Regions from separate parts of the Homo sapiens genome. Here all the other regions are linked to region 3. The links are contacts of gene promoters, found by promoter capture Hi-C in blood cells and fetal thymus (Javierre and others, 2016). All regions are on one chromosome and are shown on one strand. The core of a region is centred on a gene start or on the middle of the fragment in contact, and the rest is flanking DNA. Distances in the headings are between cores, read along the strand shown. Region 1 overlaps MTMR2 (myotubularin related protein 2). Region 2 overlaps MTMR2 (myotubularin related protein 2). Region 3 holds the start of LNCRNA-IUR (lncRNA imatinib upregulated). Region 4 overlaps CEP57 (centrosomal protein 57). Region 5 holds the start of LOC107984377 (a long non-coding RNA gene). Region 6 overlaps CEP57 (centrosomal protein 57). Region 7 has its middle 42 kb from the start of FAM76B.

Evidence for each region. Contacts are between HindIII fragments. The CHiCAGO score rates a contact against its expected background, and 5 or more counts as called.
Region 1: a fragment that was not itself captured here is called in contact with the fragment with the promoter of LNCRNA-IUR in region 3 in 1 of 17 cell types (erythroblasts); the score reaches 6.5 in erythroblasts.
Region 2: a contact is called between a fragment that was not itself captured here and the fragment with the promoter of LNCRNA-IUR in region 3, in 1 of 17 cell types (erythroblasts). The highest score is 5.8, in erythroblasts.
Region 4: a contact is called between a fragment that was not itself captured here and the fragment with the promoter of LNCRNA-IUR in region 3, in 3 of 17 cell types (erythroblasts, naive B cells and total B cells). The highest score is 7.1, in erythroblasts.
Region 5: a contact is called between a fragment that was not itself captured here and the fragment with the promoter of LNCRNA-IUR in region 3, in 17 of 17 cell types (total CD8 T cells, megakaryocytes, M0 macrophages and 14 more). The highest score is 30.4, in total CD8 T cells.
Region 6: a contact is called between a fragment that was not itself captured here and the fragment with the promoter of LNCRNA-IUR in region 3, in 1 of 17 cell types (naive CD4 T cells). The highest score is 5.5, in naive CD4 T cells.
Region 7: a contact is called between a fragment that was not itself captured here and the fragment with the promoter of LNCRNA-IUR in region 3, in 17 of 17 cell types (M2 macrophages, megakaryocytes, non-activated CD4 T cells and 14 more). The highest score is 16.5, in M2 macrophages.

What each region holds. Positions count from the first base shown.
Region 1 is chr11:95,843,297-95,847,025 of GRCh38, reverse strand. MTMR2 (myotubularin related protein 2) reads left to right here. Exons shown (of 15, transcript NM_016156.6): 11 at 1,867-2,073. Among named protein-coding and RNA genes, the nearest start is that of CEP57, 55 kb to the right of the region's middle. The HindIII fragment of the contact is 2,224 bases long and covers 1,018-3,241 here.
Region 2 is chr11:95,919,680-95,923,252 of GRCh38, reverse strand. The region is part of intron 1 of MTMR2 (myotubularin related protein 2); the gene reads left to right. Among named protein-coding and RNA genes, the nearest start is that of MTMR2, 2.6 kb to the left of the region's middle. The HindIII fragment of the contact is 577 bases long and covers 1,109-1,685 here.
Region 3 is chr11:95,149,209-95,153,027 of GRCh38, reverse strand. LNCRNA-IUR (lncRNA imatinib upregulated) reads right to left here and starts at 2,489. Exons shown (of 3, transcript NR_110303.1): 1 at 1,280-2,489. RefSeq lists a silencer at 1,260-1,369 and enhancers at 1,890-2,019, 1,620-2,161, 2,162-2,703. The HindIII fragment of the contact is 7,632 bases long and covers 1-3,819 here.
Region 4 is chr11:95,826,557-95,830,204 of GRCh38, reverse strand. CEP57 (centrosomal protein 57) reads right to left here. Exons shown (of 11, transcript NM_014679.5): 9 at 2,178-2,419; 10 at 874-1,018. Among named protein-coding and RNA genes, the nearest start is that of CEP57, 38 kb to the right of the region's middle. The HindIII fragment of the contact is 517 bases long and covers 1,832-2,348 here.
Region 5 is chr11:95,695,835-95,699,442 of GRCh38, reverse strand. It overlaps LOC107984377 (a long non-coding RNA gene), which reads right to left and starts at 86. Exons shown (of 2, transcript XR_001748337.2): 1 at 1-86. The HindIII fragment of the contact is 4,092 bases long and covers 1-3,608 here.
Region 6 is chr11:95,802,179-95,805,596 of GRCh38, reverse strand. The region is part of intron 2 of CEP57 (centrosomal protein 57); the gene reads right to left. Among named protein-coding and RNA genes, the nearest start is that of CEP57, 13 kb to the right of the region's middle. The HindIII fragment of the contact is 4,822 bases long and covers 1-3,418 here.
Region 7 is chr11:95,745,906-95,749,249 of GRCh38, reverse strand. No RefSeq gene overlaps it. Among named protein-coding and RNA genes, the nearest start is that of FAM76B, 42 kb to the left of the region's middle. The HindIII fragment of the contact is 3,824 bases long and covers 1-3,344 here.

The sequences.
Region 1 (3,729 bases), core at 880-3,379, 690 kb before region 3:
GTAACCACATATATAAATATTAAGAGGTAATGGGAAATGCAGTCTTTCACGTTAAGAAGGAGGATACTTCTGCTCACATTAAAATCTCTGAAGTTCAGACAGAATTGAAGAGAAAACCAAACTGAATAAGAATTTTAAATAGACCATTTTTACTATTGTTTCCCTTTGAGAAGCTTAGAAGCTTGAAAATCACAAAGTATAAACACTACTCAGAGAGCATGTTCATGTGGCCCATTCATTAAATTATGTGATGTGTAAATATACAGCCTTAGGCTTGATTTGGAACTAACATAAATCGCTGTGTTTGATTCTGAAAACTCCAGATATTTAATTTGCAGTTTCAACATGGTCTCTAAAAGGCTGGCTATAACAGAATCAAATTTCCCTAGAGTTATAAGACATATAGTTGGGCTAAACTACTTTATTCTCCCCCAATCCTTATCACACAAAGAAAGTTTATTTACTCAATCACTCTCTTCTGGTCTCTGCTCAAATATCACCTTTCTGAGAGAGACCTTTCCCAGCCTCTTTACAAAATAAGAGTTCTACCAGCATTCCCTATAACTTCTATGGAGCGTTTTCACTTATTGCCATCTGGTATACTGTATATTTCCTTGTTTATTTGTGACTGGTGGGCCTCACCCAAATAGAATGTAAACTTCAGTAAGCAGGAACTTTGTTCCCTGCTGTATGGCCCGTGCCTAGAGCAGTATCTACCTTCTAGTAAGGGACTCCATAAATGTTTATTTAATGAATGAATGAACAATTACTACTTTGGATAACTCTTCCTGATCAATCTTAACTAAGCCTTTGGGTTAGTGATTCTTAACTTCGTATATGCACTAGAATTATAGGTGGAATTTATTTAAGATACTGAATTAGGATCATTGGACAATGAGGTCTAGGCACTTCAGGCTTACAAATGACTCTTGATATATAGTCAAGATCGTCATAGTACCCCATTTCCAGAATATGCTTATAGCTGTGATCAAGGGGAGGTTATCATACTTCCAAGCTTAATAATCTGTTTTCTTTCATTCTCATCTGCGTATGTAGAACTATACTGTTTTTCAAGTATAATACAATATGGCCATTGCAGAGAAGAATAGGGCTGTATTGTCCTTTTTTTTTTTTTTTTTTTTTAAGATACCATACTTTTGTGTTTCTTTTTTGGTTATATCTAATTATGTTTAGTTTTAACTCAAGATTGACTTCAGAAAAGGTAAGTTATTTTGCAAAGGATTTCTGCATATTTAAAAAAATAAGAGCTGAAGTTATTTTAAGTAACAGATTGACATATTCTGTGAATTTTCATGCAGTGTTACAGAAAAGTAGCTCACTCTAAAGTTTATACTGTGCTTGCTGTATGCTCTGTGACATAAAAATCTTTAGTCAAAACAATACAATAACTGCTATAGAGTATTTTAAAGAGATCCAGTATTATTGCTTTCAGGTGCTTATCCCAATTTGGTTTAAGCATTGTTTTAAATCATAACAAGGCTTCAATTGCTATATCAATTATTTTTATTTAAATAGATGATGGAATATTTGATTCTTAGAAACAGATCTCTTTAGAACTTTTCTAAGAAGAATCTTACACCATGATTTATGTAGCACCCAAAGGTACTTTTGATTTGGCTATTTCGTTGGGCAAATTAATAGGAGTCAGCAATTATGAGGTTTTTCTAGTTTTAAAAGCAAAATTTATATATCTTCTACCATTTAAAAAAATTCTTCTTAGGAAGGGACAAATGTTTTTCCTCATGTTATTGAAATAATGATCCCTGATAAGCTGTATTAGTAAATTTTGAAGAAGGAAGTATTTACCTTGTTTAAAAACAATGTATTAAAAAATCTGTTTTCCAGCTTATTCTTGCAGGGGCTCTTAGGATTGCTGACAAGGTAGAGTCAGGGAAGACGTCTGTGGTAGTGCATTGCAGTGATGGTTGGGATCGCACAGCTCAGCTCACTTCCCTTGCCATGCTCATGTTGGATGGATACTATCGAACCATCCGAGGATTTGAAGTCCTTGTGGAGAAAGAATGGCTAAGTTTTGGACATCGATTTCAACTAGTAAGTAAGGAACCTTGACTTTGGATATATCACATGCATTCATGCCAAGGCATGTGAAAAAAATGTGTTTTTTAAAATAAGATATTCATCTGAAATTGATCATTTATCTAGTGGGGTAAACGTTTTTGCTTGTTTTGGAAAGCATTAAGATATCCCTAACATGACTAGTCTGGAGTCAGAGCTAGCTATTTGTCAAGTGTCTGACCCAGTCTTTTCTGTGATCTCCACTGGGAAACATCGGATATCATTCAGTGATGTCCACGGGTGTTTCTGGGCAGGCGTTTTCCTAAATAATTGAAAAACTTTTAGAAGGGTCTTTACCCAGATGCTGTCTGTAATGTTTACCTTTAGTATCCAGTAGTTACCAGAGTATACTAGCAGTGTTTATACAGTTGTCCCTTGGTATATGTGGGGGCTTGGTTCCCAGATCCCATGAACAGGCCAAAATCCACACATATTCAAGTTCTGAAGCTGGCCCTGCTGGGACCATGTAAAGTTGGCCCTCTGTGTATGTGGGTTCCGCATCCTGCATTTGGCTGAAACAAATCTGCATATAAGTGGACCTGTGCAGTTCTAACCGTGTTGTTCAAGGGTTAACTGTAACATGAAAGGAACAGACATTTAAAGTTAGTCTGCTCTTTTGAACTTGAACTGTTAAATAAAATTGGGTACCTGGAGTGTTTATTCAGATGGCTCACATTTTGCCGTTCTCTACACAATGTACTTATCATGAAACGGCCATTTAAAACAAACTCGTACTTCAAAGAATCAAGTTTTAGTCAGCCAAAGCTGCACATGTTTATATAAATGTGTTCAAAATCAAACATTTTGGGGTGTTCGAAGTTGCTATGGATTCCTAAATTGCTAACTCTGGTTACCTACTCCCCCCGTTCTTTTTACCTAGTTATATTCTGAAAATAGAATCTTGACAATTAAAGGGCACCCAGTCAAGAGGATTTGCTCACAAGGTTAATGTAGAGTAATGATTCTCAAACTTTTTGGTTTCAGGACCCCCTTTACATTGTTAACAATTATGGATAGAACTTTTTTTTCCTAACTCCCCAAACTTGTTACCCAGAGAACTTTATGTGAGTTATATCAATATTTGCCATATTGAAAATTAAATTTGAAAAAATTTAAAAATATTTCTTAATTTAGGAAATAAGCTTATTATATATTAACAGAAATATTTAAACTAAAAAAAATATTTTCCAAAACAAAAAGTTTAATGAAAAGACTGGCATTGTTTTACTTTTGCAAATTTAATGAGTTTGGCTTAATAGAAGATAGCTGAATTTTATATCTATTTTTACCTTCAATCTGTTATGTTTTGTTGGTTTTAGTATATGAAGAATATCTAACCATATACAGATATGTAAGTGGAAAAGCAGAAAGTATTTTAATAGCTTTTTCAGGGAATTGTAGATATTCTTCTTTGATACTACGCCAGAACTTGATAAATGGTAGTTTCTTAGAGGTTAGTTGTTATATGGAATCCAAAATCAAGTTAATGAATTTTTTTTATCATTAAATTCCATTGGTCTCACTTCCATTTTGAATAGATCTTTTACCCATGTGTGGTTTTGTAACATCACATATTGGTTATTTGGAAAATACTGGCTTATTGAGTTACACAGATCTTCCAAATGTAAATGC
Region 2 (3,573 bases), core at 148-2,647, 770 kb before region 3:
CCCAGTGATAGGTTTAAGAAAACAAAATGAGTGGTAGTTTTCTTCCTTCTTGGGCTACTGGTTCTCCACGTTGTCATTTCTCTTGTAACAGATGGGAATTTTATCCTGGAATTTTGAGGAGGACTTTATGCAGCTTTGCAGAGAGCTTTTATGAATATTAACTAGACGCGTTTTGGATGCAGTCTTTTTCTTTGATTTTAAAATAATGATTTAAAAATTTTTTAAAAAATAATATAAGACCTGTATTTGCTTTTTATGCAGCCACGATGAAATCTGGTTCTTTTCCACTGAATAATAGTCTAATTGTTATTAGAGAGTGATTCGATAACTGCTGTGTGAAAACACACAATTTTCATTTTCTCCTTCAATCAGTTGAAGTGGCTCTATTATAATTCATTTTGGATTCTGCTAAATATGGGTAGTTATTGCCTTTTTTCCTGTTGATGTTCAGCACCTCACTGGGGAACCACTGTCTGATCCCGTCATTCTACATTGCCATATGCACTCATAGCTCCCTGCACAGTCGTTTTTCAGAGTCTTTAATAAGCACACTATAATTGTTGGCTTAAAGTGCCTTTTCTACCAGGTTATAAGCTATTATACTTGAGGGCAATCTTAATCATCTTCATATCTCCAGCACTTAACATAGTCTCAGCATGTGATAGGTGCTCACTAAATGGTTTTTTTTTTTTCGAATTTGTAGCCTGAATTATCCAGGAAAGGAGGATTTTTCTTTGCAGTTTGATTATATATATTGCACGTTTGAATCAAGTATTTTTTGAATTCTGTATTTATTGCTTTGAAATTTGGAAAGCTGAGGATTAACATGTTCAGTTGTGTAATTCATTCAGAAAACAGGTTGGAAAATTCGAATTTTATGGGAAAGTTACAAATGACAACTATGCCTCAGAATAGCATAAGAGGCAACCAGTACTCTCATCCAAGGCAGAGAAGTTAGAACCACATGAAGCAGCACAGTATGTTAGAAAGAAGGAAGTACTGGAAGTTAGGAAGCTCCCATGCTGAAGTCTCTGGCTGAGCTAGCTCTTTGGTCTTTTCATTTAGACTTTCTAGTCTACAGTTTTCTCATCTTTTAAAATAAGAAGCTTGATCTAGAAAATCTGTAAGGTCCCTTGGAACTCTAACATTGTCATTTTTAAAATTTTAATGACAATACTAAGATGAATGCATTGATATTAATTTTAAAGATAATTCCTTTGCAAATAACCTTTGTTTTGGATTTTTGCAATTACACGAAATAAGTGTCCTTTATTATTACAAACTAATATACCTAACGGTGCCACTTGAACATATTTATTTCCTAAAACAGAAAGCCCAGCAAGTATAAAGATTATATATGTATATGAACTTCTCTATAAAAAATTATGTTACTGACAAATTTGAGAAAATTAAGTACTCCTCGAGAGAATTGTGATATAGTAGATTAGCCTAATCCTCTCTGGACAAAAATATAAGTATGATTCCTATTTTCCATAAGAGAATGCCAGCTTTCATTACTCTCCTCTGGAAGGTAGAAAAGTAACATTTACTTAATGTCTACTGTATGGAAGTTTCCCTGCTAAATTCTATGTATCTTTTATTTCATTAATCATCATACCTGTTTGTGGCACTCTCCTTAATCAACAGTATGTAATAGATACATTATAGACACTAGTTAGAAAGCTTAATTTTAAACAATCTAGGCTAACACTTCATCGCAGGTGACTCTAATACATTGCCAGTGTGGCCTGCTTTGGTCTCATAGCTATGTTAAGTGTCTATCTAGATTGTTTAAGTTATTTCTTTTGTTTCATTAGCCTTTGACAAAGCAAAATTATTGCTGTTTGGCCTATATTATCTCAGTTTTTGCAGAAATGATTCCCTTAAATTGTAGTTTATTTTTATGCTTTCTGTTTTTATACAGAGGCCTAATTGGGAAACTGCCTTTGGAATTTGTTTTGATATCTCTGGCAGAATAATAGTTAATATTGTTAAATGTGTCACAGAATGTTTTTCACACATGCATTAACATAAATTTCTGCTGAGTTTAGCTACAAAGAAAATTATTTATAGAAAAAATTATGTATGCTCCTTGTTTGTTAGTAAGTGGTAACTATATAACTGCGTCTTTCTCTTTAGCTTAGTAAAACTTTAGTCAAATTTATATCTGAAGGTGGTAATATACTCATCTCTAATTTCTTTAAGTACTTTTATTATTACATGAACTCAAGTTAAATATTATGTGTTATGTTTAAATGTATTGATTAGATGTCTGAAGCCCTTTTGGGAAGTAGGAAGGATGATACACTAATCCATGTGGTTGCCCATTGTTTTTTGAAAATGACATACTTGGCCGAGTGCCATGGCTCATGCCTGTAATCTCAGCACTTGGGAGGCCAAGGTGGGAGGATCACTTGAGCCTAGGGGTTTGAGACCAGCCTGGGCAACATAGTGAGGCCCCATCTCTAAAAAAGAAAGACTTTTTAAAATAAGTAAAAATATTTTAAAAAATGAAAATGACATACTCCATTGAAGTTGGATTACAGGCTGTTGTGCAATCTGTAGTTCACAATAAACATGTGATGAGTCTTACTAAGTATCTGTAGTCATTTCAGAGTTCTCTTGTCTCCAGTTATGCCTTCTAGGTCATCATAGATCTGATGCTTTTGCCCACAAAAGGGCAATTTCATTCTTCATATGATATCCAGGTAGTAGTTTCCTAACCAGCTATAGTTATGTCATCCTGCATCTTTAAAAAAAAAAAAAAAAAAGTAATCGTCAGCTGGGCGTGGTGGCACGCACCTGTAACCCTAACTACTTGGGAGGCTGAGGTACCAGAATTACTTGAACCTGGGAGGCCAAGGTTGCAGTGAGCCAAGAACGCACCACTGCACTCCAGAGTGGGCAATAGAGTGAGACTCCATCTCAAACAAAAACAAAAAAAACAATAGTTGTCTTTGGTGAGTCCTGCTTAATATTGCCATACTTCAGTAAACTGTTCAGCAACTCTTGTATATCTTGCTGTTGGCCATTCTTCATGTATATCTATCCCCACAGAAAGAGAGAGGGAGTTGTGGAAAACTTCACTTTAGCATCCTAATAATCTAGTTATATTCTGTAATTTTACTTTTGTTGGGTGTGCTCTGATTCTTGATATAAGTATGACTTTATAAGATATAGGTAAAATAATACTGTAGGTCAGATGTGATAATAAGAGTAGGCTTGAGTCTCAGAACTGTAATGAGTTACACAGCAGAATTTGACATTATATTGGTAATAATCTGCCATCTTAGTCTGGTTTTCCATTTTTCAGTTTATACACTATTATAAAATGCACTGCTTTAGTGGGTTTCTTTGATTAGTTTGTATTGTGCATAATCAAATGGTAAGATATCTAGTGCCGAATAGGTGCTGAGTGAACATCTAAATAAAAGAATGTTGACGGAATGTTCACCACTGGTCTTGTTTGTTGTTCCCATTCAAAGGATTAAAAAGGATTCCTTCTGTTGAATTTGGCCTGAACACTTGCAATTTCAGGTCTAAGCTGAAGTTATTTTTATGGGAGACTGGACA
Region 3 (3,819 bases), core at 1,240-3,739:
TGTATCATGGCAACCCATATTTCTATCTCCAGCCCAGCCCTCTCCAGACCTGTGTGTCTGCCCAATCAATCTCTCCACTTGTTTTTCTAATGAACACCTCAAACCTAAAATATATAACATTAAGCTGTCTTATCCCTCTACCCCAGCATCTTCCAATCTCAGCCAGCAGCATCTCCGTTTTTCCAGCTGCTTGGAGTCATCCCTGATTCCTGTCTTTTTCTCATACCCAAAAAAACAATCAGACAGAAAATCTTATATATATGTAAATCTTCGCCCCGGTTGGAGTGCAATGGCGCAATCTCGGCTCACTGAAACCTCTGCCTCCTGGGTTCACGCTATTCTCTTGCCTCAGCCTCCCGAGTAGGTGGGATTAAGGGTGCACACCATCACACCCAGCTAATGTTTTGTATTTTTATTGATTGATTGATTGACTGAGACAGAGTCTCGCTCTGTCGCCCAGGCTGGAGTGCCGTGGCGCCATCTCGGCTCACTGCAAGCTCTGCCTCCCAGGTTCACACCATTCTCCTGCCACAGCCTCCCGAGTAGCTGGGACTACGGGCACCTGCCACCACTCCCTGCTAATTTTTTTTTTTTTTTTTTTTTAGTAGAGACGGGGTTTCACCGTGTTAGCCAGGATGGTCTCGATCTCCTGACCTCTTGATCCGCTCACCTTGGCCTCCCAAAGTGCTGGGATTACAGGCGTGAGCCACCGCGCCCGGCCTTTTATCCTACTTTCAAAAAACATACCCAGAGTCTGAGTGTTTCTCCTTACCTCCAGCGCCACTCCATGGCCCGAGCTCTGTTTCACCTGGTTCTCACCTGGATCGCGGCCTCCAATTTGCGCAGTGACCCCTACAGTCTATTCTCCAAACAGCAGCTGGCGTGGTCATTATGAAAAGCAATGTCCACCTGCTGCTCAAAAACCCACGAATGGCTCCCCATTTCTTTCCCATTAAAGCCAAAGTCTAAAACATTTACAAAGCGTTATATGATCAGTTCCTACCTGCTTTCCTTATGTTGGAGGCTGTGAAGCTCCTTAATATATAAACAGTTCTCAGGAGAAGGAATAAAAGCACAGCCACCTCCTCAGCAGAGCCAGTTTACACTCTGCTAGAGACAAGAGGAGCTGGGACCTTCTCCCCTAACCCTTACTGCATATGTGAGAGAAGCCAGACCTGCTGGATCGACTGGAAATGCCCAGTGCCTGAGACGGGGAGGAAAGAGAAGCCGTGGGGAGGAAAAGACTGTAAACCTAAAAGGCATTGAAGTCCCACCTCACCAGTTAGGCAGGGAGGAGAAAGAGGCCTAGGGCGCTCGGGAACTTGGAATAAGGTTGCCCTCTGCGGGTGAAACTGTGAAATATCTCACAGTGGAGGAGGGCGGAGACTGTTCGCAGAGGGGCCCGGCGAAAACGTCACCCTACTGGAGGTACGAACGCATCGCAGACTGGGGGCGCCCGAGCGCATCCCAGACGCGAGGGCAAAGGCCCAGGAGGACTGTGGGGCTCTCGGAAGTATCCGATCACCTTGCGAGGAGTCCGCCGGCTGTCCGAGCCTGATGTCACTGCAACTTCGATTCCTCCGACGCCCCTACTCTTACTTCCCAGTCTTCAGGCAACTTCTCCGCTTCGGCCTCCCCTAGGCCTTGGCCCCAGAGAGGGGACGCACTCCACAGGTGGATTCGCACGTGTGGGCCCTCGGCAGCACTTTCTCGTGCAAATTAACAGGTGGCCCTCATTGTGGAAGCACCGCCCAGCCTTTCCCGGGGAGGTCACCAGGGCGAGGCCGCTCAAGGTCTGCAGGCGCCCGGCGTTAGCGGGATCCTCCCCGCGCACTGGTCCGAGGAGGCCAGGAGAGGGCGAACCAGTCCCCGACCAGCGGCCCTTCCGGGGGTGGGCTCTGACCCCACCGAGCGGTTAGAGGGTCCAGGAGCTCCAAAGGGTAGGGCAGAATTGGGTAGATGAGGGTGCATTTTTCTGGGAGGAGTCTAAGGCGTCGCTGACTCTCAAAGGCCCGCATCCGGAGAAAGGGAAAGAGCCCCGTCCCGGGAGGAAGGACGAGAGGCTGGCCCGCGGGAAGGAGCCCTGGCAGTCCCTCCTGGCCTAGGTCTACCTCTTTGATCTCACCGTCCCCGTGGCGGCGAGTGCCACCAAAGATGAGAGAGGCCAGCAGGTATCGGGAGAGAGCTGAGGGGTCGGCGCCGGCGGGACCCCAGATTGGAGCCGCCGTCGTCGGACGGGCAGACCCTGCTGTAATAGCTCCCGGCCGGCCACGGTAGGCAGGTGGGGCCCACCGCGAGTCCTAGTGAAAAACACCTTCCTCTTGATTCTCTCAAAGGAACCCGAGCCCTGGGAAGGGACATCAAGGCGCTCCCGAGACTCCGGAGACGGCCAACAGCCCCAAAAGAGAGTACTCGGCTATCCAGCCGCCCTTATCCAAGCGGAGAATCTCTCTCCACCTCCGCCCTCCCGGGACTCAAAGTTGTTTGTGGAGCCTCCAGGTTTCCTTGTAGATGGGCACGATATGCACTGTGTGCGCGCGCGCGCACACACACACACACACACACACACACACACACACACACGTATATGTATTTTTCCAGTGGCCACTGCAGGATTGCCAGCTTTCGGAAATGAGCATCCGCTCTCTCTCTCGGGACTGGGCGTGGGGTTCACCGAAAGGAGAGGAAGAGACCTTGCGTTTGCGCTGGGCCTGCTCGATGCCAGGCCATTCTAGGCTTCTGTCTATCCTGGTTTCTGGTCTGTGCGTTGTGGGTAGCAGCATTGGCGTATTACGCCGGAGGGAGCAGGCTGAGCGAGGCTCCAGAAGGTGCGCAATAGCCGGAGAGGAAAGGGCGATGCTGTCACCTAGCCCCCTCCCTGAGACTCCATTCAGCCCAGAAAAAGGAGCTGCTTTCTCCCCCATCTACCCTAGGAGAAAATAAACGGTCGCTGGCATTTTCCTGCGTCTTTTAATTTTGCCAGAACTGTTTTGGGTTGGCTATTGTGGGCCAGGATGGAGGCCTTCTCCTCCCGGGAGCAAACCTGCCCACGCCCAGGCCGGCAGTGGAGTCAGCCTTGCCCCAGCCTGCCCTCCAGGGAAACAATGCCCCTTTGTCCCTCGCCCTCCCGGGGCTGATACAGCCCCTCCCCTTAGCTTAGGGCTCCCTCCCGTTAGAGCATTCCAATGATTGCCACAAGTCACACTTTTCTTTGAGGTCTCTGCCTGGGAAGAAAACAAAGCAGCCCTCCTAATCACACGGAGGGAGTGGAACTTTTCCTGCCCTCTGACTATGTGCCAGCCTTGGCTCCTCCCTGAAGCCCTGTCTAGAGGGCTTATTAGGTCACTTATGTTTTGTACCTCGTGTGAAGTCCCACAATCAGTAGATTATAGAGGGGAGCACAAACCCAGCAGTGTCTGACATAGAGAAATTACACATACATACATACACACATACATACATACATACACACACACACATACACACATACATATACATACATACATACATACATACACACACATACATACACACATACATACACACATACACATACATACATACATACATATATACATACATATATATAGTCTTTCCACCACCCAGGATTGAAAATTAATGCTGTTTTTGACATTGTCCGTTATCCACCCAAACCCTCCAAAAAGGCTGGCTGGCATTTGCTTGGCTCTAGTTCTACCTGCCCACCTTCTCCTTTGCCTAATCCTGAGTTTTCCCCTTCCCCACGTGTGTTCCCCTTGAGCACTTTTTTGCTAACTTCCTGCATGCTACTGTCATCTCAGAGACTGATTCCTGGGGAGC
Region 4 (3,648 bases), core at 841-3,340, 680 kb before region 3:
TGTGGCTTAGCATCTACCTCATCTATAATATGAGAATATACCCACCTCAGAAGCCTTTTGTGAAAATTAAATGAGAAGATATACTCAGAGCACTTGGCACTGTGTGTCTATCATATGGCTACCAATCAACAGTCAACAAAACTGTTCTGCTCTCTGAACTTCTCAGCTTTCTCCATTTTAGTCAGTGGAATCACCATCCTAACTCCCTCTCCTTCTACATGATACCCAGCAGCAAGTAACCCCAATATTTTTTTTACTTCCAAAACATACCTCAAATCTGTTTACCTCTGCCCAAACCCAACTACTGTCTTGCTGACCACCTCTGATACATCTATAGCTGATCTCTCAGCCTCTCTGCCTTGATCCCATTACCCTACCCCTAGTCACTACAGTAATCTCTTAAATATATGAATCATGTTTCTCTCTGGTTGAAAACCCTTGAGTGTGATGTCACCACTGCATCTGGTAGTACTACATTGTTGGCTGATATAAAATGATTAGCAACATAAATATATTTCACATATTTAATGTATGACTTATTCCTTTGGAAACAGAATTTCGCAGGTGCTTTTAAAAAAACTTACTTGGATAAACTCCAATTTAAATTCATCAAAGAAGTTAAAGCTTATTCATAAAGAATATTAAATATATTCAGTATTTGAAAGATGTTTCTTAGATGAATATGCTAAGTGACTAAAAGTGTCTTCTTTCTTAATCCACTTACCAATTCTCAATGAACAAATGTCTTCAGTAAAGAAGTATCTCCTGTAGATATTTATCTATGATACACTTAGTGTCATCATTTAATATTTGAATTAAAGTGTTTTTTTTTTCTTAATCATTAGAAACTTGAGTGAAGGAAAACTGAGTTACCTGGGCTTGGTATTTTCGAACTTTAGTTATTTGGTTGGCTTTTGCTTCCATCCTTCCCACTAATGCCTCCAATTCACACTCCAACTTGTCTTTCAGTTCAACGGTTGGCGACTCCTGGATAAGTTTTGCAAGCTGCTGGTGATCACTATATACAAAGCAGAAGTAGAACATGGTTAAGTTTTCTGTGTTTCATGGTTAGGTCTATTATACCTCATTATGGGTTACTGCTCCATGTGTTTAAAAAATGACTCCATTTTTTGAACAGAGCAATAAATTTTTTTTTTTTTTTTGAGACGGAGTCTTGCTCTGTCGCCCAGGCTGGAGTGCAGTGACATGATCTCGGCTCACAGCAAGCTCTGCCTCCCGGGTTCACGCCATTCTCCTGCCTCAGCCTCCCGAGTAGCTGGGACTACAGGCGCCTGCCACCATGCCTGGCCAATTTTTTGTATTTTTAGTACAGACAGGTTTTCACCCTGTTAGCCAGGATGTGATATGCCCACTTCAGCCTCCCAAAGTGCTGGGATTACAGGTGTGAGCCACCATGCCTAGCCTAGATCAAGAAATTTTTAATTAAAAATATGAATTTAAAAGTTCAAGAAAGGCACTAGAGGGAAATGCAAGAGTTCTTAATTTCAAGGTTAATTCTTTATATTCTTATTTTCCCCAAAAGAGTATTGTATATGTAAAGTCTACAGATGAATCTTGCTCTTCAAACACTCATGTCTTATCAGTTAAGTTTAGCTAAAATGAATGTGATGTCAGGTGCCAGATGATGATGTAGTAAACAACAGACCACATATACAACAGTGGTCCCGTAAGACTTTAGTATCATATTTTTACTCTACCTAGATGTTTATATACACAAATACTTACCATTGTGTTACAACTGCATATAGTATTTAGTAGTAGAGTAACATGCTGTATAGGTTTGTAGCCTAGGAGCAATAAGCTATAAGCTTAGCACACTCTTATGTTAGCACAAGGAAAAGAAAATCGCCTAATGATGTATTTCTCAGAGCACATCTTTGTCATTCAGTGATGCATGACTGTATATCATAAGTTCTCAAAGAAATAAAACTTAAATATAAACCTTGGTCTTCAAAACATTTAACAGTATTTAAAAAGAGAGAGATTTTACCCTTATTAGTTGTATTTGTTAAAGTCCCAGTAACTTGGTTGGTATAAGGATTGTGCTCAACCATACTTGCTCAACAAAGGAAAGTAAGATTTAATAAAGTCAACAAGTTTTTAAAAAATGAGGTTTTAGAGCTAAACTGAATTTAAAAAAAAAAACAAAAACTCACAAGCTCATTTGCCCAAATTCATCCTGTAAAGTCTGTAAGACTTCTGACAACTCCTCATTAATACCGTTGGAGGAGGGAGGTGTTACTGACAACTTCTTACTTTTACCACCTCGTGAAGATACTTGCTTTGCCAAAGGAATACTGTTGATGACTCGATCATTGCACAAAGCTTTACTGTGTTGCTTCATTAGATGCAAGACAAGCTGAACATTGGCTACCACGGCATGGCTAGGGCTTGTGGACTAAAGGAAGAAAAATGATGAAAGAAGTAATTGAAGTTATATTCTCTACACCACTTTCTATTCCCTAAGCCTAGGTAAAAAGAACTCTCCACCCCCTAAAGTAGAGTATATAAATCCTAAAATTATTCTCATCATGATGTTCTTCTATTTGAAATCCTTTGATATAAATCCACTAACTATGTTTCAGAATGGAAAATAAGGCCCTACATACACATCATTGAGCTGCAACCTACATTTCCTAGCCTCATGTCCTATCATCCTCCCCTTCTCTCCATTTTGTGAACAAACCATATTTGCAGATGACATTTTTTTGGTGTATTAGCAACATTTATATCATTCTTTAAAACCCAGTTCAAATATATTATTTTTAAAGGCTTCCTTAAAACTGCCAGGTAATCAATCAGTCCATTATCAGATCACCTATAACACTTTTTACATCTCTCTCATAGCATTTATCATATTTTAATTGCTTTTACATATCTATTTCACCTATTAAACAGTGTACATCCAGGTGGTAGACACTATTGTTCATTTCTGTATCCTGGAATAATAGGAAGCACTAAATTACATGTCTATCACGTGTGTAAGAAAAACCTGATAGACTTCTCAAAGATATTTTGCTTTTGTTTTAAACACTAAACCAACAATCTCAATGTACTATTCCACTTTATAAATAGATGGCTGGGCTTACTTGGCTCCATAAATATTATTAGAAAGCATATTTAAAATGCAGGTTCCTAGGCAGCACACCAAACTCACTGCAGAGTTAGGGTTTGGAAATTTGTGTTTTCAAGTCCTCCAGTTGATTTTGATTAGCCAGATTTGGAACCACCATGCTAAGCTAAACATATGCTTTCCTTCTAATCTTAGTTTCTATTGTTAGCTAGCAAAGTGAATGCAGCAGTATTATATATCACATCCAAGTGGGAGTTTATTACATCAATGCAAGGCTGGTCCACTATTCAAAAATCAATCGATGTAACCACTATTTTGCTCGTAACTTGTAATATATATTTAGCATACTAATTGCCTATGAGTACACTTTCAATATGCAATAATTTAAAAAATTCTCGTTCTGTTATTTTTCTGATTATATTAATATGCACTTGACCCTTGAACAATGGAGGGGTTAGGGGCACCGACCACCCATGTAGTCAAAACTCTGCCATAATGAAATTTTTTTTTCCTTCAACTTTTAAGTTCTGGCGTACATGCGCAGGTTTGTTATA
Region 5 (3,608 bases), core at 516-3,015, 550 kb before region 3:
CTGCTCTGTGCAAGAAACAACTCCCTCTTTGTGAAATCCAGGAACATCATGGCTGAGGCAAACAGAAATGCATGAGTAAAGGGATGTGCTGTTCAAATGGGCAGAGATGAGCAGCCTACCCTTGTGATCTTTCATACAGAAGGACTTCTGTTTGTAAAAGGCAGGGAAGGAGAGCTTGCTGAAGAAGCTGCCCTCAACAACAATATTTTTGGATTCTTACATGCTGATCTTTTAAGAAGTAGCTGAATTTCCTCATGAAACACTGTGTTTTTTCTCGTCTTCAAATGACTCAATCTGGCGTGCTGGAAATTTCAGTTTGTGGCCCAGCTTTCCTGCAGAATAGCTACATGGTCTTGCACAAGGTTTGCAATCCATGGAGAAGATAAGACAATGGGTATAAAATGTTAAGTCCTAGATGAATGAAAATAATAATTATTATGTAAGGAGTATCCCAAATCCATTTTCCTTCCTAAGGAGAAGACTTAAATTAGCCCTGTCCAAAAAAGAAATTCTTGCTAATTTTCTTTTTATCTCCAATCACCAGCATCCCGACCACAGGTCTTAACCTAGCATAGTATCCTTCCTCTTTCTTTGTTTCTTCCTGTAGAGTGTGAATACTACTTTTAATCTTATGTAGGTATTATTCGATGATTATTATTCTACTCTTTCTGTTCTCTACATATTGATCCTGCAAATATTGGCTGTTTCAGAGAGTGGAAATCTCTCAAGGGCATGGAATCATAAAAGTGAAACACAACTAGGTGTTGACTAATACTTTGTGTTAACTTGAAGACAAGGTTGATGATGATAATGATGATCTTTTTCACAGTTTACTAAAAGTAAGGGAAGTGGTAAATTTATTCCCAAACATCCCTCAGAGAAAGATCCTAAGATGTATGCAAAAATCATGGAGAGAGAAAAAAATAATGAAGAAAAGGAAGAATGACCTAGTCTTGTCCTTTTACATGTATAGAGAGCATTTCCACTTCTACATTTCATCATTATGTGAAATTCAACATGTCTTAAACCAAACTCTCTTTTCTCCCTCAAAGCAGCTCTCCTGATTAGCGTCCCCATTTCAGGTTTATTCTCATAGCTTCCTAAGCTCAAAACCCCTGAGTCATTTATTACTGCTGCCTCTTCCACGCACTCATACCCAATCAGTAATCAAGTTCGTTGTTTCTGCCTTCAAAATAATTTTCATATTTTTCCCCTTCAGTTGCCATGGATACCGTAAAATTTCCCTTTTTGCTTCATGCCTGGACAACTGTGGTAACTTCCCGAGTCTCTCGGCTCCAATCTGCCTTGCAGACAGCTGCTGCTGGAATAATTTCTTTTGCCATGTCATACCCCTGCCCAGAACCCTGCAGTGGCTCCTCACTGTTCTTACTTAAAACCCAAATCCTTTAAAGAAATTTGCATGGCCTTCTATAATCTGACCATATTTAAAGAATCCCTGCTAATTTACACGATGACTTTGTGCAAAATTGAGAAGTCACCCCCTCTGGGCATAGGAAGCCTTGCGATTTAAGGCTCAGCTAAAGAATCAAGCCTTTTTGCATTCTAAAAGGTGGTCTCATCCTTAGGGTGTACCCTGTCCTGCTGTAGAGTACACAGGGCCCTTAGAGAGCAGGGCAAAGGCTGTTTTTCAGCCTCCAACCACTCAGAGGTCCTAGGAGTAACCCTCACGGCCATAGGCAGGCCCTGCAGCCTTCCTGTTCAACCTGATTTCTTTTTGCATGGAAGCTCAATCCTTCTCTCGGACAACTTTGCTTTCCCTGAACAAGCTGTACTTAAGTTTACCAGAGTCCCTTGACTCATGTTTTTTGCATTTCTTGAAATACACTTCTGTTTCTTCATAGCTGGATAATTCTTGCTTGCCCTTCAAAGTTCACCTCCAATGTTACTCCTGTGGGAAGCCTTTTCTAACTCCATCGTCTGAAAAAAAATGACCTTCTTAGTTCCTATAGCAGTGTGCATACTCAGTTGTAGTACAGAGGAGTCAAATTTGATAACCTACGATGCAGATGGGCCAGAGTATGTACTTTTCAAATTTTGGGTGGCTGATTTTATGTGGCTCTGGATTTTAAGGTAACTCTGTGTGTTTTGGATAAATAATCTGACACTTCAAATGTTCTAACTGCCCTCTCTAGGGAGTAGATAGAGTCTGGAAGCAAGGGAAGGTTTGCGTGAATTAATGGTATCCAGGAAGCAGGGGAGAGGTGGGCAATTTATGTGCTGTCCTTCTTTGCTTGCTTCTGGGGCTCTAGTTAAGCTCATCCCACCTGGTCTTTGGGAGTCAGCCTCTATTTACATTAAAGCTGCTACTGAGCAGCGTATGGCTGTTGTAACTCCACTCAGGTTGTATTCTTCCAGGATGGGTGAGGCATGATGATGGCTCTTGTGATATGATTACACACACACACACACACACACACACACACACACACACACACACACACACACACACAGGTTTTCATATACAGTTCCTAGCTCAGAAACCTCATAATCTTTGTTATATTCTTTTGTCACAATGTTGGGGTACTTTAGGCCTTAGGAACAGGCCTCAGAAAATGGAATCTCTCTCTCTGACCTTCTCCTGCCTTCTTTTCACCTGCCCAAGGCAGGACTCTCATCTGATTGTGGGTCATGAGAACCTCATTCCAGAGTGGGTTCTACCCCATACTCCGCAGGAAGGAATGCTGCACAGAGAGATCCAGAAAACCCTGAGCAGGCAGGCCTTGCTGGGTTTATTCAGGTCATATCCTTTCTGTACAGTCACATTGTGACACAGTTGTCCATGCTTCCAGACCTTCCCTATGTATCTCTTCATTTGGCTGTTTATTTGTATTCTTTAAAATATCCTTCATAACATACCAGTAAATATGTTTCTGTAAGTTCTATGAGCTGCTCTAATAAATAAATCAAACCCAAAGATAGGGTCATGGGAACCCCAACTTGAAGCTGATCGGTCAGGAGTTCTGGAGGCCTGGACTTGAGGCTGGTGGGAGAAGGGGGCAGACTTGTAGGACTGAGCCCTCCATATGTGATATCTGTTGCTGTTTCTGGGTACATAATGTTAGAACTGATTGGAGGATACCCGGGGAAAAACCCCCACACTTTGGTCACAGAAGTCTTCTTCTGTGTTGATGATTGTTGTTGTGGTATGAGGGCAGAGGAAAACATGGTTTGCGTGTTGCTCTGAAACAGTATCCAAAGTGTTTGGCCATCACCTCTTGTTGATCAGGCCCCACGCTGGCTCTCGCGGTGCTTCAGATTCCCAGTGACTCCATTCCATCCCCAGCTTGGCCCATCGTTGCCTTGAGTAAGTTCACCAGCCAGCACTCATGGTCCACATTCCCGGAGGCATTCAGGAGCTTCTGGACTCCTTCCACATCATATGAGCACCATGGGAGTCAGTTGTCCCATAGCAGGCCTGTCTCTGTGGACACTTCCCTTTGTTGTTCTACCACTCCAAGGCCAGCTTGGATAGCCTAGGAAAGCAGGGCACTAGCATGGAAAAAATGCTTGTGGGTTCTGTCTCAATGTGCCTGGAGTTTTGTGGCAATTTCTGCTGCTGCAAAACCCTCCAGTCTCTATATACCTGG
Region 6 (3,418 bases), core at 64-2,563, 650 kb before region 3:
GCCGTCTTTTACGAATTGAGTCCTCTTACTCAACCCAAAGTATTCTTGTCCATTTATTAACATAATTTATTCCTTCACCAAATTTTTCAGTGCCTAGGATATTACAGGTCTCAAATAGGAGACTAATACATTTTATCGAAGTCAGCTTATTCTTGCTGGTATGCAATGAGACTACAATATAACTAGAAAAAATGCAGACATGAAACAGACACACACACAGGAAGAAACCTGAAAAATCAACTGAAAAGACACTCAGAACTAAACAGAAGCCTAAATATAAGATTAATAATAAAGGGAACAATTCTTTTATATACCTGCAATAATCAGATAAGTACAATAGAAAAATAAAATTTTAAACGTCCTTTAATATCCATTGAGTTTTCTTAACCTCTTCTGAATCAGAGGCAAATTCACTAAAGACTTTGTAATATCAAACATTTTTTGCACTCCTTCATTAAATTATACCCAACAGTACACAATGTTGCTGATACTTTATTTCTGCACTTATATTTATTATTGAAACTGGCTGAACATTTCATTTTTGTTCTTTATGTCAGCAACTGTAGTATCACAAGGATATGCTGGGGTGTGCACTTTTGTTTTATGTATTCTTGAATGGCTTACATATCCCTGTTTAAATGCGTAACGTTTTATTGTTTTCTTTTTCAAAAAATTACTGAATAAATGCAGAGGATAATTTAGAAAACACATGATTGAAAAGGAAAAAAATCACACCCATAATCTTACCATCTAGATGTAGTAATTATAAACATTTTATTGAAATTCTATAGATTTTAAAAATGCTTTTATATGTGAGATTGACCTTTACTATGTCATATTTATTTATATATGAGCACACTTTAAATGCAATTTATAATATTAAGCATTTTCATTAACAATGTATAGCTCTCATTATGTATTCAAGTCTTCACGTATGCACCTCAGTAAGCACATAAAATTGGCTTGAGTTGACTTATCAGAGGTGACTTTTTTTATCCAGTCTCTTCCTGAGACCACGGGCCGCAGTGTTCCAGTTCTGCTTTGACAACTCTCATCACGCCCACCTTTTCAAAGTATTCCAGAAGTTGCCTCAGGGGCGCCTAGAGCTTTGTTCTCCAGTCGCTACCCACATTTAAAATTCCATCATCTCTGCTACTGTACCCCAACATTTAAGGCTTATACCTAATGCCAAGACTCCTAATACTGTCCCTAAGGTTTTAGGCTTTAGTTCCATCCTTACTGTCCTGGCTTGAAACTCATTTTATTTCTGTACTTGGGTATTTCTCCTTCTCACTTTTAAACTAGGTATTATTTGTTTTTATTTAGTATTACATGAAGCTGCTATTTGCCTATACTAACTGTTTGACAGTAGTACTGCCATCCATCGTTTTTATTTGTATGGCAGTAAACACCTTTGTCAGCTATTTATTTTTTGTTTCATTTTATTTCAGGTTTTACTTAAAAAGCATATATTGGCTTTTGAGTTGACGTAATCACATTTGTCATACCTGATAAATTTCATATTTTTCATTATATTTTGTATTTCCTAATTTTGTTTCCTGAAATTTTTCTTTTATTTTGCTATATGAAGTATAGCACACATCTTTGGAACTGTTTCCCTGACTTATATACCTCTTTTTCTGGGAGTTTCCCCTTACCTCAACATGGCTATACCTACAACTTTACTATCCTTTGACAAATCTGGCTAACTGATCCACAAGGGACACACGCTGAAACCCAGATAATGCTTGCTTGTCTTCTTGGGACTTTTGTCCGAAACATCAAAGCCAGAACTGGTTCAACTTAAAACTCAGTAATTTTTAGTAATGTTTCCTGCTAGGCAAAAAAAAAGCTCTTTTGTAGCTAGAAAAAATGAAGCTAGTTACAAGCCGAAAAAAAAAAAAGATGGAAAGTGCTAGCCATGTTTGAGTCCCTAATGTTCTTCAAGTCCACCTGGGTCTATTTATTGCTTGGGACATTTCTGTCATTAACATAAACACAGGTTTATGTTGTTGTAGATTAAGGGGCGGGGGGGCAGGGGCCAAACCTGTAATATGCATCTTTGATTTCTCTAATATTGCTGTCTTGGTAGTTCTCCACCTTTCTGACTTTTCCTACTTTTTAGTTTACTGTTTTAATGGTGGTATTTTCCAAAGCCCTTTTCTCCCTCTACTTTCTTTTTCTGGAGAAACCCCTCTATACTCATAGGCTTCATCCACTACTGTATCCTTGATGATGTCTGAGTTCATTAGTAGTGTTCTCTATTATACTTGACTTTTTAATTTTCATTTGCTTAGTATTCATCTCCATCTAATTCACAGGCATCTCAAATTTGATACAGCCAAAATTATATCAATTCCTCTAAGTATGCTTTTTTTGTGTCATCTGTCCTAATCATACCCCTAATCATCTTCACTAGAAATCTTAGACTCAAAGATTTCTCCATCTTCCTCATTCCCCACAACAAAATATGCATAAATCTTTCCTTAATCAGTCTCCTGTTCTGTCTTGTTGCTTCAGTTTAGACTTACTTCTGATGTAAACCTCAGTCCCTCAAACATATAGACCACATACAATGTGTGAAGCACTCTGCAAGGCGTGAAGACTGTCTTTGGCCTCAAGGAGCTATCATCTAGATTCTGGAACAAATGCTACTATCTACATTCTTCTCACACCTGGTAAAAAAGTATTTACATGAACAAAATACTACTCTGGACATACTCATATCCTTGATTACAGTGGTTCTCAAAATATGGGGCATAGGCACATTGAGGGCAGAGCTCATGAGGCCTTTCCCAGGGCCTGTGAGGTCAACACTATTTTCATAATACTATTAATAGTAAGACTTCACTTTTTTCACTGTGTTGAAGTTTGCCAATGATCATGCAAAAGCAATGTTGGGTAAAATTCCTAATTTTAGCTCAAATCAAGGTAGTAACACTAAACTACTATTTTAGGCATTGTATTCTTCACTGTCATAAATTCCCAGTAAGAAAAACTAAGCCACAATGTCCTTGATGAAGCAATAAAAATCATGTCAGGTTTGCCAGGCACGGTGGCTCACACCTGTAATCCCAGCACTTTGGGAGGCTGAGGTGGGCGGATCACGAGGTCAAGAGATCGAGACCATCCTGGCCAACATGGTTAAACCCTGTCTCTACTAAAAATACAAAAATTAGCCAGGTGTGGTGGCATGTGTCTGTAATCCCAGCTACTCAGGAGGCTGAGGCAGGAGAATTGCTTGAACCTGGGAGGCAGAGGTTGTAGTGAGCCAAGATCATGCCACCGCACTCCAGCCTGGGTGACAGAGTGAGACTGTCTCAAAAAAAAAAAAAAAAAAATCATGTCACGTTTATAAACCTTTCACATGCTGTACTCTTGTTGAACTTTTCTTCTTATAGAACTGTGCTCATTCTTT
Region 7 (3,344 bases), core at 598-3,097, 600 kb before region 3:
CACACGGATAGGTATTAACCTCTAGAATGGATTTACCATATTTAAAAGAGTAATAAGGAACTTCCAATAAATTGTATTTGCATTTATTTAAGTCAATTGTTGTCTTGGTAGATAACAACTGTGTAGCACTTTTTATTTCATGAAACCCTTTGACCTTCACAATAATTCCACAAGGTAGGCAGATGATAAGTGTAAGCATAGAGGAATAAAAGGACATGTTCAAGGTCACACAACTAGAACATGGAGGATGCAGGTCTCAAATTTGAGGCTTTTGGTTTTATAACTCATTGCCATTACACGATAAGTTACTATGCAGCAGTAGTTCTTAATATTTAGGGGCTGTGTGACACTTTGATGACCTGATCAAAGCTATGGAACATTTTCCCAGAAAAATGCAAATGTGCGCACATCCAAAAATGTGAAGACAATTTCAGGGATGGGGAGGTTCCTTTCCTCCAATACATCTGAAGCCTACTCATGGATCTCAGGTTAGGCATTACTGCTGTATAAAGAACATGCTTCTTAGTCAATTCTATTTCTCCTTTGTTGGCTATCATAACTCAGCCTTCCAACAGAGTTCTGGCTTGCTCCCTCATCCAATTAACTACATCAAATCTGCTCTCTTGCCTTATTTCTTTGTCTCTGATAATGATCTGAGCATTGAGCATGAAGACATCCTCCCTTAGCCTTAAATCAGCAGTTCCTCACAGGCCCTACAGACACCCATTTCATTTTGTAAAGTTTCATTCACTGTTCCTCATATCTCTTACAACATTACTAGTTTAAAACTATCATCTCAATACTGAGAAACTCAGGTATATTGTCCATAAGCTATTACTGAAATGGTGCCCGGTCATGGGAAGCATGGAGAATTAATCTCTCTTCTGTGCTCATATAGCTCTCTAAGCATGTCTCTATCAAATGAGCTCACACTATGTTATAATGATCCTGTTATGTTTTGCTCCTTCAAGAGGTTGTGAGCTCCTTGGTGACAGAAACCATATCAATTCATCATTAGGGAATGGCTAGCACAAGGCAGGTGAAACAAAGTAAGAGTGAAATAAACATTTCTTGCATTAATAAATAAATGAATCCAAACATTCCATTCAATGAAATACTTAAAATCGTAAAACAAAACAAAACAAAACAACCTGTACATCCTTGCCACGTACAACTGCATCAACCTCAGAGGTCAATTAGGTAGGAATTGTTTTGAATGCTTCCTTCTGTTGCTCTTCCAGATACTAGAAGGAGAGAGATATATATTAAAGGTTCTCCAGTTCTATTAACTGTCTTCCTGGAGACTTATTTTAAAGCCTCATCTGATTAAAATGTTTAGTCTCAATGACTGGCCAAGAGGAGTGATTATTGATTAGCTGTTTTCTTTTGGGTTAAACATGAAAGGCAGAACTATTGTCTCCGGAAGGCATTTGCTGAAAAGAACAGGTGTTACCTTGATAAAAAGCAATAAACCCTGAGCTAGTCTCCCCACCACTGCTGGAGCCCATCTACATAGTCCCTGAATGGGGAGTTGGAGGCTGAACAGATGGATAATTAGGCAAGAAATTCTGTAGAGAGATATTTTGAAAAAAGTAGGAGCAAAGTGTGCTACATGGGAGTCCAGAACCAAGGATGGAGGTGAGGAAAAGTGGTTAGGCAGGAGATTGCTGCTAAATGAAAAGGGTGGAGAAACTTTATTATGAAAACCTTGCCAAAACAACCGTCTTTGACCATTTGTTCTTTGCTCTTCCTCAAAGTCTGTTTAATGATAAAAAGAGATTATTATGGTCTTTGAAGGAGAAGGTTGTCTTTTGTAGATTAATGTGACTTTTACTTAAATCAGAAACCATTTTGCCTAGAGTATAATAGCAATCAAACCAGTGTTTGACTTCCATAAAGTAACTGAAATTGGACTTGGCCTCCTACCAGAAACACTAGAAAATTGTACAAAAATGTATTAAACAACTGTCTTCAGACTTTGGATGAAAGGTAGTACAGGGCTGTGATCCTTGAGAGAAGGTAAATCAGTAATGTGGGCCCTAAAATGATCTCAGCTTTCTGTACTTTAGGGACAGCACATAGCAGGAGAACCCAAACAGAACTCAGTGGTCTTGTTGTGTTGAAGACATAGAAACTACAGGTTGAAGAGGCTGAGGTAGCTGTAGTTTGTAGAGTAGGAAACTGGAGAGTAGGGAGCCATGCAGAGAAAGGGCACCAGAAATTTGCATATAGGTCCACTTGAGTCTGTTGCTGAAAACTAAGCTATGCATGCTAAGGATGAAAACTTTATGCCAAGCAAGGAACCACTAGGGTGCTGCAAAATAAGCAATTTCCAGAGAACATACTTGACTGAAAGTTCCTTGAGTTCCAACCGGCCAAAGTGATGAGGCCTCATTAAACATTAAATACAGACCCTGGAAGACTTATACCTTAGTAGTAGGCTAGACTAACCCTAAGGGAAAAGCTACTCTAGACATTTTTAACAGTTTAAAAACAGGCTTCAAAAAGACTAGGTTGATCCACAAGTAATTTAATTGCCTTCCAAAAGAAACTTAAATACACTCTAATGGAAGACAACAAAATTTGGACACTCAGCAGTGTAACAATCACAATTCCCAGCATCCAGTAAAAATTTCTGGACACATGAAGAAGTGTATGGCTCATAACCAGGAAAAAGACAAGTCAGTAGAATCAAATTTAGAAATGACAGAAGTGGAATTAACATACACTGGATTTAAATATTTGTTAAAATTGCTGCAACAAATATGCTCAAGAATTTTTTTTAAAATGAAGTTAGTGAGGAAAGAAATAAATATTTAAAAATTGAAGCACATGGAACTCCCAGAGATGAAAAATCAATATAGAAAGTGAAAATATTGCAGGAGGGACATAATAGATTAAATACTGTAGAATAAAAGGTCAGTGAAATTGAAAATGTAGCAATAGAAACTATCCACATGGAAGCAGAAAAAGGAAAAAAAAGTAGCAAAATAAATAAACAGAGCCTCAGAAGTCTTTGGAATAATTTCAAGTGCTCTACATTTATGTAATTAAAATCCATGAAGAAAAAAGGGGGATTTTAGAAGTATTAGATTAAATAAAGAGAATTTCCGAATTGGATAAAAATCATAAAATCAATATAAAGAAAAAGAATTTCTGAATTGGATAAAAATCATAAAATTAATATACAATCATACAAACATCAGACAAAAAATCCACCAAGGCATATATTAATCAAATGTCTGAAAACCAATGATAAAGATCCTAGAAATGGCCAGAGGAAAAGAGAACTCTATATTATGTAAAAGGGAACAAAGATAAGAATGATATCAGACTTTTTTGTC